2 separate regions of the Homo sapiens genome follow, and region 2 is linked to region 1. The links are contacts of gene promoters, found by promoter capture Hi-C in blood cells and fetal thymus (Javierre and others, 2016). All regions are on one chromosome and are shown on one strand. The core of a region is centred on a gene start or on the middle of the fragment in contact, and the rest is flanking DNA. Distances in the headings are between cores, read along the strand shown. Region 1 holds the start of TAF2 (TATA-box binding protein associated factor 2). Region 2 holds the start of EFR3A (EFR3 homolog A).

What was found. Contacts are between HindIII fragments. The CHiCAGO score rates a contact against its expected background, and 5 or more counts as called.
Region 2: a fragment that was not itself captured here is called in contact with the fragment with the promoter of TAF2 in region 1 in 1 of 17 cell types (naive CD4 T cells); the score reaches 6.1 in naive CD4 T cells.

Annotation. Positions count from the first base shown.
Region 1 is chr8:119,827,468-119,834,237 of GRCh38, reverse strand. TAF2 (TATA-box binding protein associated factor 2) reads left to right here and starts at 1,397. Exons shown (of 26, transcript NM_003184.4): 1 at 1,397-1,756; 2 at 2,507-2,561. The coding sequence starts at 1,674. It overlaps DSCC1 (DNA replication and sister chromatid cohesion 1), which reads left to right. Exons shown (of 9, transcript NM_024094.3): 9 at 1-262. It overlaps LOC105375728 (a long non-coding RNA gene), which reads right to left and starts at 1,359. Exons shown (of 4, transcript XR_928590.3): 1 at 1,162-1,359. RefSeq lists enhancers at 1,276-1,635, 1,696-1,745. The HindIII fragment of the contact is 3,868 bases long and covers 1-1,471 here.
Region 2 is chr8:131,903,458-131,910,679 of GRCh38, reverse strand. EFR3A (EFR3 homolog A) reads right to left here and starts at 6,587. Exons shown (of 23, transcript NM_015137.6): 1 at 6,358-6,587. The coding sequence starts at 6,367. RefSeq lists an enhancer at 5,591-5,640 and a silencer at 6,211-6,690. The HindIII fragment of the contact is 200 bases long and covers 3,518-3,717 here.

The sequences.
Region 1 (6,770 bases), core at 148-2,647:
TTCCTTTACAGCTTTATTTTCCTGATTTGTTTTGGTTTAGATCAAAGTTCAAATTAATTTTAACTTAGCTAATGAACTCATCACCAGGACAGTTGGAGGGGGTAGGCCGAGGTTAAATGGTCCACGTTTCAAAAATGTTAATGGCTAATCCATAATTAAAGAAGGTTTAACTGTTACTGAAGTTTACAAGTTTTATTGTCATGAACATGAAATACAAACACGATGGCTTCGAAATGTCTTTCAATAAATGTTTCTGCATTTATATGGATTATATGATATATATACACAGTCTATATATCTCTATGTAGTCTATTTATTTATTTTGAGAGGGAGTCTCGCTTTGTCTCCCAGACTGGAGTGCAATGGCATGATCTCAGCTCACTGCAAACTCGGCTTCCCGAGTTCAGGTGATTCTGGTGCCTCACCCTCCCGAGTGGCTGGGAATACAGGCGCACGCCACGACGCAGGGCTAATTTTTGTATTTTTACTAGAGACGGGCTTTCACCATGTTGGCCAGGCTGGTCTTGAACTGCTGACCTCAAGTGATATGACTGCCTCAGTTTCCCTAAGTGCTAGGATTACAGGCGTGAGCCACCACGCCTGGCCTGTAGTCTATATTTTATTCTTTTTTTTTTTTTCTGAGACAGTCTCAGCTCTGTCGCCCAGGCTGGAGTGCAGTGGAACGATCTCAGCTCGCTGCAACTTCCGTCTCCCAGGTTCAAGCAATTCTCCTGCCCCAGCCTCCCAAGTAGCTGGGATTACAGGCGTGCACCACCACGCCCAGCTAATTTTGTGTAATTTTTAGTAGAGACGGGGTTTCACCATGTTGGTCAGGCTGGTCTCGAACTCCTGACCTCAAATGATCGGCCCGCCTCGGCCTCCCAAAGTGTTGGGATTACAGGAGTGAGCCACTGCGCCCGGCCTTGTAATCTATATTTTAAAATAAATACTAAGGCAGCAGTGCCTAGTGAGAGCTGTGGAGTGCTGCAGTTTTGACATTTAGACTACCTGCAGTCTAATCACATATTTTACAGCTTAAATCACCGGACCCAGTGTGTCTGTTCACACAGCAAGCCAGAGGCACGCACCTCCTGATTTCGGGAGACTTCCCACCACCCCACCCCGCCCAGTTACTAGCACCCTGCCCCAGCCTATTTATACCTGGCTCTTCGCAAACTTTGTCCTCCATTCTTCTCAATATGCTTGTACTAGAAAACTACCTTCCCTCCTTTTCTTCCTGCTGTTCTCGCTTCATCCATTAAATAGTTTTTTCCCTATCCTAAATTTTAACAATTCTTTACGATAAGACACATGCGAAGATCGCAAGCCCTGCCCATTGACAAGACTTCCTGGTTCTACCCCCGCCGCCGTTCCACTTCCGCTGACGTCGGAGGTCAGAGGTTACAGACAAGATGTCGGCGGATGGTAGCTTCGAGCCCTTGCGGAGAGGAGCATCTCTGTGACAGAAGCTTGTCGACGGCGGCTTCTAGGAGCTAGTCGAAGGAGCGAGGTTGAGGCGGGCAGCGACCCGTCAGGTCGCTCACCTGGGCACCGGCCAGCTGCGAGACGTGACTTGGGGACCGCAGGGGAGTGGAGAGTGTGAGGTGCCAAAGACTAGTAATGCCCCGTATCCCCCTAGGAAGCCGGGAAGCCAAGCTCCGCGGGACCGCTTCATGCCGCTGACTGGTGTAGAGCCCGCCAGAATGAACAGGAAGAAAGGAGACAAGGGCTTTGAAAGCCCAAGGCCATATAAATTATAAGTATTTTTTCATTTCCCTTCCTTCCTTTTGGTTTTGTTGCCATTAATTATATTTTGCGATTGCTTGAAATTGACTTGGTGGGCCTGGGAAACCTAGTGGGAAACTAGAATTTACTCACTGTGATGGAAATGGTGTTTGTAAGGTAAAAATGTTTTGAATGACAGGTTATTCAGCAAATTTAATTCCCGTTGCAAGTTACTAAAGTTTTTGTCTAAGTACTAGATTGTATTTCTGTCAAATCTGTTTTCGTGACTGTTGCTAGATTTTAAAAAATTATCCCAATTGGTAGAGTGTTTTTTTTTTTTTAATTTTTTAATTTTTAAGACGGAGTCTCTCAGTCGCCCAGGCTGGAGTGCAACGGCGCGATCTCGGCTCACTGCAGCCTCCACCTGCCGGGTTCAAGCTTTTCTCCTGGCTCAGCCTCCTGAGTAGCCGGGATTACAGGCGTGTGCCACGATGCCCGGCTAACTTTTGTATTTTTAGTAGAGACTCGGTTTCACTCTGTTGGCCAGGCTGGTCTCGAACTCTTGACCTCGTGATCCGCTTGCCGTGGCCTCCCAAAGTGCTGGGATTACAGGCGTGAGCCACCGCACCAGGCCCCAATTCGTAGTTTTAAAATGAAATATTGACATGTAATTTTGAATTACTTAGAACATAGTCCTAATTTATACTTGGATAGAATTATACTTTGATTTAATAATAAAAATTATTTTTTCCTTATTTTCTTTTTATATTTATTAATATACAACCCATCAGGTCGTCTGCATCAACAACATAAATTTCCAGAGAAAATCTGTTGTGGTAAGTTTATTCTCAACAATTATAAATAGTAACAAGTCCACTATAAAGAGTAACAATCCACCCCTCACAGTACTTAGAAAGTTTGTAGTCTTCCAGATAATTGTGTTTCAAGAATAGGTAAGAATTAAAATTAGGGTCTGTATGATTACAAGTTCCATGGTCCTTCTATTAATACCTATTGCCTCCCAAATTCTCCCTTTCCTTTTTTTTCAATTTCCTAATTAAAATTTTATTCCTCTTTATCTGGTGTATAATATGAAAGCCTGTATAGCCAAGCATTTTATAATTGTGCATGAAACAAGTATAAGCCCATAGCGACATTTCTTCTATGAAAAAAATTAAGATTAATACACTCACTGACTTGGCTTCTAAGAGGCCATTTTTGCTTCTTGACTGACTTGGTTTAGGTGATGTTGCTTTGTAATGAAGTTTTAGATAGAGTATTTGAGATCTAGAAACCCTCTACCTCCCCCTGCCTCCCGACACAATTTAGATGTATGGATTGCTGATATAATCAATTTTAGGAAAAAGCTTGAACATTCAAGTTTTTTGTTTGTTTGTTTGTTTTTGGAGACAGAGTCTCGCTCTGTCACTGAGGCTGGAGTGCAGTGCTGTGATCTTGGCTCACTGCAACCTCCACCTCCTGGGTTCAAGCAGTTGTCCTACCTCAGCCTCCCAAGTAGCTTGAATTACAGGTGTGCATGACCACGCCCAGCTTATTTGTGTATTTTTAATGGAGTCAGAGTTTTCTCCATGTTGGCCAGGCTGGTCTCGAACTCCTGACCTCAAGTGATTCACCTGCCTCTGCCTCCCAAAATGCTGGGATTACAGGCATGAACCACTGCACCTGGCTGAAAACTCAAGTATTTATTTAATTTACTTTCTTAGGGCTACCTTTATTACATAGGCTAAAATGTTAATGAGAGCTGGTTTTCCTTGAGTGATGGTATCAACTTCTCTGTCAGATTTGTTACCCATGTATGTATATATTTACTTAGGATAAGCTGAATAGATAGAAAAATGTCGCTTTTCATGAGTCATAGAATCTTAGATTTGTAATGTTCCTAAAAGATTTATTAAATTTAGTCTCCTCGTTTATGGAATTTCTCATGCAGTCTTCCCTAGGTTATGTACCTTATATCTTATATAGTAGGATACTTGAGTTGTATTATGTTGTATGAATTGGGTAGGAAAGATAAGGGAATTAGGGAGTCTAGTTCAGAGGTTACTGCGGTAATCTAGGGGAGAAATGGTGAAGTCCTAAATGAAGATAGCATTAGTGAAAATGGAATTGAAATAGAGTTGACATGATTGAATTAGTGAACATATATTTAGCCATTAATATATGTAAGATATCTTCTAAGGTTTATGTGTATTAACTCACTTAATCTTCATAATTACCCTGTGAGATAGATAATATTTTAATCCTAATATTAGAATTAAGGCATGATTGAGGCAGCTAAAAGAATGGAGGTTCAGGGCCAGGCACGGTGGCTCACACCTGTAGTCCCAGCACTTTGGGAGGCTGAGGCGGGTGGATCATGAGGTCAGGAGATCGAAACCATCCTGGCTAACACGGTGAAACCCTGTCTCTACTAAAAATACAAAAAATTAGCCGGCTGTGGTGGTGGGTGCCTGTGGTCCCAGCTACTCGGGAGGCTGAGGCAGGAGAATGGCATGAACCTGGGAGGCGAACTTGCAGGGAGCCGAGATCGCGCCGAACCTGGGAGGCGAACTTGCAGGGAGCCGAGATCGCGCCACTGCACTCCAGCCTGGGCGACGGAGCAAGACTCCGTCTCAAAAAAAAAAAAAAAAACTAAAAAAAGAATGGAGGTTAAGTAACTTTCTTAAGGGCATAAAGTTGGCAAATGATGAAACCCTTTTTAATCACTGATGACCTAAGAGTTTGATGCACTTTTTACGTCTTTCATTCCCCCTTCCACCTGTGTTGTCCCTGAGGAATCAATAGAAGTTGCATGTGGCTTTTTCAAGACTGCTATAAAGGGGTTGTGGATGACTTAAGTTTCCCATTGGAAACTTTGATTGGATGTTGTATGGGTTAGGATCTTGGTAGGAAGTAAATGGCAGATATACATATATGTATGTGTATATATATATACACATACATATATATACACACACACTCACACACACACACAAGTTAATTGAGGGAAATGAAGGGAGTATTTAGAACAGAGTTAACAGAAACCAACATGAGGTGGAGGAACCCTCTGAGCTATCAACAGTGAGGAACAGTTGTCTAGGCCTGAAACAACAACGGGAAGGGGAAGTTACTAGAACCTACTGTAGCCATGGAATGGGTCACCTTGTAGGACCTGTGTCTTTTAATAGAAGAATGAAGCTACTGCTTACCTGCAGCCTGGCGGAAAGGAATCTGGGGTAATTAATATAAACTTGCTTTCCTTCTGTTTTCCAGTTTCCTTTTTGTGGAAACTGTTGGACCAACCCAGCCAGAAGGGTAGAGCCCAGTTAATGCAACTCGTAGGGTATTGAGTAGGGTAGAGAGCAGATCAGGAGGGGCAAAATGAGAATAATCAGAACAGTCTACCTTTTTAACCCCAACGCATCCACTGTTGTCTTTGGTTGAGATGAAAAGCTAGTGCTCCTAACATGGGGAACTTACAAAGTCCTATGAGCCACTGAAAGAGTTGGTAATGGCTGACTACTTGTTTTTTAAGTGAAATGTTACTTGAACACAGCCATCCCCATTTATTTACATATTGACTGTGGAGGTTTTGGAGCTACGCTGGCAGAGGCGAGTAGCTGAGACAGAGACTGTGTGACCCACAAAGCCTGAAATATTTCTATCTGGCCCTTTAAGAGACAGTTTGCTAATCCCTGAGCTATTCTGTTAGTGTGAGAGATGACAGTTCAGCCCTGTTCCCACCTAAAATATTAGCTACCTCTAGTGTCTTTTATGCAAGATAGTGGAAAGAAAAGTGGTTGAAAGAAATAGTATAAAACTAAATTGTAACAGTCCCTGCTTCCCTTAGCTGGTAGTATGGCCGAAGTTGATACATACTGCTTTATTTCTTCACCCCTTCGGTGTTTCCTTTTCCTTCTGCTGACATTTCTATTGGGATGACCTAGACCCTTGTTTCTTTAGGACCTTCACTGCTGTTTATATCTTTATTGGGTTGTTGCAGTTTCTGTTGCCTAGGACTGTTAGGGGGGATCTGAGAGGCATCTGAGGGAATCCTCTAGATTTCAGATGTGATTCTTGTCCTTATTGTATAGCAAAGCTTTAATTTTCTGTTCAGTAATTGAAATGATTCATTCCAGCCAGAACAGGACCCCTTTCTCTGCTTTTTGGTTCTTTGGGATGAGGAGCTCAAGGTGGTCAAGGGGCAGCCTCAACTTCCAATGGAATGGAATCATGGTTATGTGCCCTGGTGGATGCATTCTTCACTTAGGCACTAGGACCTCTCAACATGCTGAACCCAGGGTCACAGAGACAGGAGGCAAAAATTCCTTCCATGGCTGGGCACGGTGGCTAACACCTGTGATCCCAGCACTTTGGGAGGCCAAGGCGGATGGATCACCTGAGGTCAGGAGTTCAAGACCTGTCTGGCCAACATGGTGAAACCCTGTCTCTACTAAAAATACAAGAATTGGCCAGGCGCAGTGGCTCACGCTTGTAATCCCAGCACTTTGGGAGGCCGAGGTGGGCAGATCACGAGGTCAGGAGTTTGAGACCAACCTGGCCAACACAGTGAAACCCTATCTCTACTAAAAATACAAAAAATTAGCTGAGCATGGTGGCGGGCACCCGTAATCCCAGCTACTTGGGAGGCTGAGGCAGGAGAATCACTTGAACACGGGAGGCAGAGGTTGCAGTGAGCCGAGATCATGCCACTGCACTCCAGCCTGGGCAACAAGAGCAAAACTCTGTCCCCTGCTCCAAAAAAAAAAAAAAAAAAATTCCTTCCATGGCCTTTTTGGTGTAATAGTGAGAGTAGTCACTCCAACTTTCACCCCTTGGTTCCCAGTTCTGTTTTGGCTAGGAGAGATACATTGTCTACTAATTAAAGGCAGCATCCTGTGGGAGGTTTCTCAATTGTAGTTGTAACTGAGCCTTCAGCAATTGATCATGCCATCTACTTCTGTAAGATAGGGTACAAGATAAAATGCATAAGTTTAAACAAATGGTTACTCTGTGTATGGAAGGGAAGGGCAGCAGGTTTGAGA
Region 2 (7,222 bases), core at 2,368-4,867, about 12 Mb before region 1:
CCTGCGAAACACAGAGGACTGTCTCTCCTTTTACAGAGGTGTGTGTGGGTGGGAAAGTGCATGGAGTAGTGATAACTGAAAATCACTGCCCTAGAAAACCAGAGAAAGACTGGGCACAGTGGCTCACGCCTGTAATTCCAGCCCTTTGCGAGGCCGAGGCAGGCAGATTGCCTGAGCTTGGGAGTTCAAGACCATGCTGGGCAACATGGTGAAACCCCATCTCTACTCAAATACAAAACAATTAGCCAGGCGTGGTGGCGCACACCTGTAGTCCCAGCTACTCGGGAGGCCGAGGCAGGAGAATAGCTTGAGTCCAGGAGGTGGAGGTTGCAGTGAGCCGAGATCACACCACTGCACTCCAGCTTGGGCTACAGAGTGAGACTCCATCTCAAATTACCAGAGAAAGATGGCTGCAGCTGTTTTTGCTTCAAGTTCCCCATTCCATGTCACCTAGAGTCAGAGTCTAAGCAGAATGAGTTCCCCAAAAAGCTAGGCTTCCACCTTCTATCTGTCCAGCTACTCGGCTAGTATAGTTCTGGGAGATGCTTGGAACTATCTATCTAGAAATCCTGAGATGGAAAAGTACAGTATCAAAGGAGGGGAACCTGCCCACCCTGGCTCCCTGAAGGAAACTGACAGTCAATCCCAGGCCAGGGTCCTACTGACTGGATCAAGCCTGCAAGCTACTTGGACCTCTGCACTGAGACGGCAATGCCTAGGGAGCAGGCTGGGGACCCTGCATGGGAAAGCAGGCCAGGCTGCGGGCATAGTATGGTCTATAACATTTAAATATTTAGGCCAGTGGTTCTCAACCAGGGACAATTTTGTCCCCCAGAGAACATTTGGCAATATCTAGAGACACTTTTGGTTGACAGAAGCTTGGGGCAGGAGGGTTACTCCTGGCTTCCAGTTCGTAGAGGCCAAGGATGATGTTTAATGTCCTATAGTGCATAGGACAGCCCCTGTTACCCCTAAACCTGTCCCAGACATCAATAGTGTAAAGACTGAAAATCCCTGATTTAAACTATGATTTGCAGACCTCCATTTGTATTCTTGTCTCAGACCTCAAATGTGGTACAGACAGGCCTGCAAAGAACACAATCATAAACTAAATATATATATATTTTCCTTTTTAGAGATAGGTCTTACTCTGTTGCCCAGGCTGGAGTATAGTAGTGAGACCATAGCTCACTGCAGCCTCAGCCTCCTGGGCTCAAACAATCCTCCTGCCTCAGCCTCCAAGTAGCTAGGACTATAGGCATGTACCAACACACCTGGCTAATTTTTAATTTTTCTGTAGAGGCGGGGTCTATGTTGCCCAGGCTGGTCTAGAACTCTCAGCCAAAAGCGATCCTCTCTTCTTGGCCTCCCAAAGTGCTGGGGTTACAGATGTGAGCCACTGCACCTGGCCAAATTATAAAACTTTTATAACACTATCTTTATGGGAAAAAAAAGTTCCGGTTATGGTATCCAAAGAATAACTTATCTGACTCCAGTTACAATTCAATCTATTCTGCATATAGGCCAGAAGCATGTGGGGGAGCAAGGCGGATGAAGAGAGGTTGGTTAATAGGTAAATCATACAGTTAGACGGAGTAAGTTCTAATGTCTGATAACAGAGTAGGATGACTATAGTTAATAACAATGTACTGTATATTTCAAAGTAGCTAGAAGAGAGGATTTGAAATGTTCCCAACACATGGAAATGATAAACACTCAAAGTGATGGATACTCTAAATACCCTGACCTGATTGTTACACACTGTATGAATCTAACAAAATATCACATGTACCCTACTCCATAAATGTGAAAATATTATGTATCAATTTAAAAATTTTGTAAAGATTCAATTTTTAATTTATTTGGCATTTACCAAGCACCTATTATATAACCAGGCACAGTGCTAAGCAAAAGTGACAGTGTAAAACTGATGGGATCCTGTTCAACTCCTGCCTGGCTCAGAGCACTATAGTATGAAAAAAGAGCTGGGACTTAAGAGGTCAGACCCATCTAGTTGCAATAACAGCTCTATTACTTACTGTCATTAGGAATGTTACTTAACTTTTCTGAACTTCAATCTCTCTATCTTCTAAAACAGGTCAAATAGGGCCTCCCTCAAAGTGGAAGAGTTAAAGAAGATAATTCAGGTAAAGCACAAAGTATACTGCCTACCACACAATCAGTATTCAATAATTACTTCCTATTACTAATAGCAAACTGTAAGTCTTCATAAAGTAATCAGTAAGTTGGAAACTGCTACTAAGCCTATAAAAAAGCCACCGTAACTGTTGATTGCGAGAGCATATAAAACCCCTCAAATGGCCGGGAGCGGTGGCTCACACCTGTAATCCCAGCACTTTGGGAGGCCGAGACGGGTGGATCACGAGGTCAGGAGATTGAGACCATCCTGGCTAACACGGTGAAATCCCATCTCTACTAAAAATACAAAAAATTAGCCGGGCGTGGTGGCACATGCCTGTAGTCCCAGCTACTAGGGAGGCTGAGACAGGAGAACTGCTTGAACCCGGGATTTGGAGGTTGCAGTGAACAGAGATCTCACCACTGCACTCCAGCCTGGGCGACAGAGCGAGACTCCCTCTCAAAAAAAGAAAAAAAAAAAAACCTCAAATTCTGGCTTTCTCTTTCTCCAGCATTATCTCCTACCACCTACATAATCATTAATGTAGCCCCATGTCCCCACAAGTGGGGACAGACTGAAAGATGAGATCTGGGCAGCAAACAGGGCAGTGTCAAGCCAAAGGTCACTGCAAAAAAGAAAATTCATCAGCTACAACTCTGGCAGGACACATAGGTGGTGGGTAGAAGAAGGGAGGAAGGAGGGAGATGGGAGGGGAGGGGAGAAGGAAGCAAAGGGACAATGAGGAAAGGGGGGAAGAGGGGAAAAGGGGAGAGAAAGAATGAGAATATGAATGAACACAAAAGGCTAATAATCCAGTAATATGAAAGTGTAGGTCAAGTTTGCATGTAATGTGTCTCTAAAAGGAAAACACTTCAATCAGCAACCCTCTTTTATAATTCATTCTGCATTTCTTTCATAAAAATAAATTAAAAAATAAGTTAAATGTAATTAGCCTCATCAAAAGAAAAACAAACATGGAGTAACCATATTATTATTACAGCCTAAGAAATTTGCCTAGACCTCAACGTCAGTACCTAAATGAGAAAAGAAAGCATTCAACACACATAATTACTCAAAGTATAGTTTAACAGCAAACAATATTTGAGAGTTTTGGTTTTCCCTAGAAAATATAGAATAACTTTTCATATAAAATAAAAGAGCACATTTTACCGGACCTGTTTTGAGGCAAGTTATCTGTGAACTCAGGAGCCATTTTCACATAAGGAGTTTACTAAAAGTTTAAGTTTGTGTCTATATAAACAAGAATCTACTTAGCACACCAGTGATATCCACAGCTTTTCCAAAGATTTCTGTGACAGGATGGAAGCAAATGCATTCTTGTAAGTTCACAGAACGATTTAAATTTTTGACCAAGCTTACATTTGTCTTAATGTAACTCAAGGGGAAAAAAAGGCTAAACTATTATCAATTTAGTGCTAGAGAAAAATTAATGTTACTATGCTCACTGTGGTTACTGATTATAGGGGCCAGTTCTGTGTTCAAGTCATGGTTTTACTCCATGGAAACTCTCAGAAGGCTCAGCTTCCCGATACACAACATAAAATGATGAAGAAGCTTTAACAGTCGTTCCAACTCAAACTCCGATTCAGAGTTTGAAAATCTTTCAAATAAAACGCTTCTTAATGGTCCTTTGAATGGAGAATGAAATAAAGGCCTCTAGAAAAATGATGTGTCAAATTATAGGTTTACAGGTTTGCAACAGCATTCAGCAGCATAGTCTTGAAATCTGTGCCTAAGGATTGTTTCAGACTACAGGCTTGTAACACGACCACAAAATTGTTTCTGTGTCCTGGCAGTTTCCTGTCAGGCATCCTTCCAGGTGGTTGCTTTCTCAAAGAGTCTACGGATCTCCAAAATAATTCTAGTGAAGTGGCTGTTAATATTCATGAGATATATCATTGCTTAACCAGTGGGGTTACTGCATGCTTCACTGGATTCTAGTTATTAACAACAGTTTCAATGAGTACCAATATTCCAAATAAGCAACAAAATAGCAAGAGTAGAATAATTCTATGACTTACAGCAAGGGTTGCTCTCGGAATTGTAGAGTCTGAGAGACCACAGTGATCACCTCCAACCCTTTGATTTTAATTAAAACTCGTACGGATTAACTGGCTTGGGCTTATCACTAAGCCTCTCAACCATTTAACATTAAAACAACCAATCAAACAAAAACACTTAGCTTATCTGAGCACAGTTTTCCTCCTAAGAGCTGTGAACTTCCTCCTAAATTCCTACAGAGAATAACAATTTTGCCATCTCTGTGTTGGATATATATTCTACAAACAGAATTTCAAAGAAATATTGTTGTCCACTGCACTATCCCAGCAATTTCGGCAGCTGTGACTGCCAAAGGAGAGAAAAGGCAAATATGAACACTATTCACCTCACACTGGTACCCCCAATCAATCCACAGCACATTTTTATTCAGTCATAAAAAATGTACCATGACAAATATTAACAATGACAGATAAAACAAACATTTCACTTGTCTTCCAGTCAGGGTGTGAAATCTGCATTCTTAACTATGTAAACTCCACCATGGCCCATCCTAAAATCATTTTGCAGAATGAACTCAACATTTGAAAAGAAACGAGTTTACTATATCCACTCTGTGAAGCTAGATAACCCTAGAACATAACTAAAAATTTTATTTCACAGGATAATTCTGGCATGTTACCAATAAATTCTACTTGAAGCCTCAACTTTCAATAGGTGCTTACCTCCTCCCCTTTGGTTTCTCAGAAAATAAAAGATTAGCATAGTGCTAGTCTCAGATATTCACTGAATAACGTGAACATGAATTTAGAAGTACTAAACTGGCAATAACAATGAAGATGATTGTAAATGATATTCCTCCAGCCAAAAGGAATAAAACAGAAATTTAAACTGGACATATTTACTGGATGCGAAGTCCAAGAACGTGAGTTAAGGACACACAGTAGTGTGTGAAGAAAACAAAATCCACAGTACCCACACATGTATGAGGAGTTAAAAGTAATCTCTACATCAGGACTATGTAAAGATTTGCCACAGGAAAATCTTTAAATCTCAAAAAGATATTTAAATATCTTTAATATCAATTTAAATTTAATATCCTTAAATATCAGGAAAATATCAATCTTTATAATATCAAGAAATAACTCATCTTTTCCCACCACTAGACGAAACGTGCATTGGAGACTGACCTGGAAATTCAGCGTCCCAGATGGCTACAAAACAAGGACAACTAGAAGTAGTTATGAATTCTAGGAAATATATTCACAAGTGTGTAAAGATTCTATAGTATTGAACACTTAGTCAAAGGAGTCCTACTTGAATTCTCAAATCAATGACAAAGTTGCTTCCTCTCTACCCAAGATCAGGAGCTTCCCTAGTTTGCACATATCCACATTGACCAGTGGCTATAAAGTCACACTGCGATTATCTGGGTCATTTTAAAATAGGTCATTAGCAGTACTTGTAGTATCGCGTCTGTCTAAAAATCCTCCAACACCGAGTGACTTTTAAACTTTGGGGTGCCTTGGTAACCCCAGGGACGCTTATTAGACATGCAGACTCCGGGGCCCAAGCTCCAGACTAATTCCATGGGAATAGGGCGGGTCCCGAAACCGGCATTTTTAATCATCTGCCCGGGTGAATCCGAAGTGTGGTCCAAAAGCCACAGTCGAGGTGCCTCTGCCTAACAAGCTCCACAGAAAGCTCCGACTTCAGCCGCCCCGACGGCGATACGGACGCCGAGTTAGGCTGTCGGGGGTCTGTCTGGCGGCCGCGGGAAGGGACTCGGGGCCGGCGCGTCCACTAGCGACGTCCGGCCCGAGGTGAGAAGGGACTGACAATGGTACCGCAGTTATTTTCAATATTTCCATAAAGTCCCACGAAGCCGTGTGGCCGTGGGAAAAGGGCTTTAACTTTGAAATCCCACGGGTCAGGTTACCACCAGCTCTGCCGCCTCCTAACAGCGCGTCCCCGCAGTTCCCTTAACGTTCGGGCCTCAGTTTCCCGATCCGTGCAACGGGCTCACGCCATCTCCGGAAGGCTAAGCCGAAACGAAACTAACTCCGCCGCTCGCAGACACTTCCTGGCTCTGCTCAGCGCGGCCCAGCCTCCCCAGCCGCCCGGGAGGAGTACCCGGCCCAAGCGCGTCGCGCAGGCAGTCGCCTCCCAACGCCCCCGGCCCTCGGCCGGCCACTCACGGGTAGGCATGGCGATCTCGACCGCGCTCGCCGCCGCACCGAGGCTCAGCGGGGCCGCGCAGGGAGCGCCGACGGCACCATGACGGCCGTTGCTGGGCCGCGGAGGCCGGAACGAGGCGAAGGGCGAAGGGCGAAGGGTGGAGGGAGCGGACGCGGACCCCGCGGTCACGCAACCAAGCGGGCGACAGCTACCGCCGCCAGCCCACTCCTCGCCGGGCGGCGCGACGGACGACCCACGCCCGTTACGTCAGCGCGCCGCCGCCGTCCCGGCCCCGCCCCCGCGGATGGCCGGGCTCGGCCCAGGATCCCTTGTCGAGCGGGTGGAATGGGTGGCTGGGGACAGCCACGTAGAACAACTTCGGGTGCCTTCTATTTTCCAAGCCTGGTGACCTGCGTGGCATTCGTTTTCCTTGATCTCTATTTGGAGTGCATCACTTTACGTTTGTGAGGATGATGGCTTTGAGCGCACGGAGTACCTGTGGGCTTTTTCTTTTGCAATCGGTTTAACTTGCAGTGCGTTTTGCATACTCTGAAAGCATGGTTTATTTGAGATGCACTAAGGTCATTTGGGGTGATGGCTGCTCATTTTTTGAGAGGGCAGAAAATGTAATTTCCTTTTGCTCTTGTGACTTTCAGAGCGACCTTATCCCTCAGGAGTTAGTCTCCTCTGGAGAGGGCAGCTCTGTGCACTTGGCTGAGCTACTCTTCTTGACTCTGGGTGTCATTAATAATTGAGGTATCTAATAGTCACCAAGCTGAGCAGACACCGGGAGCCAGAGAGCTGAGCAACGCACCTACACTATGCTAGGCGCCGTGGGCTGCGGACAGCCCATATGGAGATATAAAAGCCAACCGCAGAGGTTTA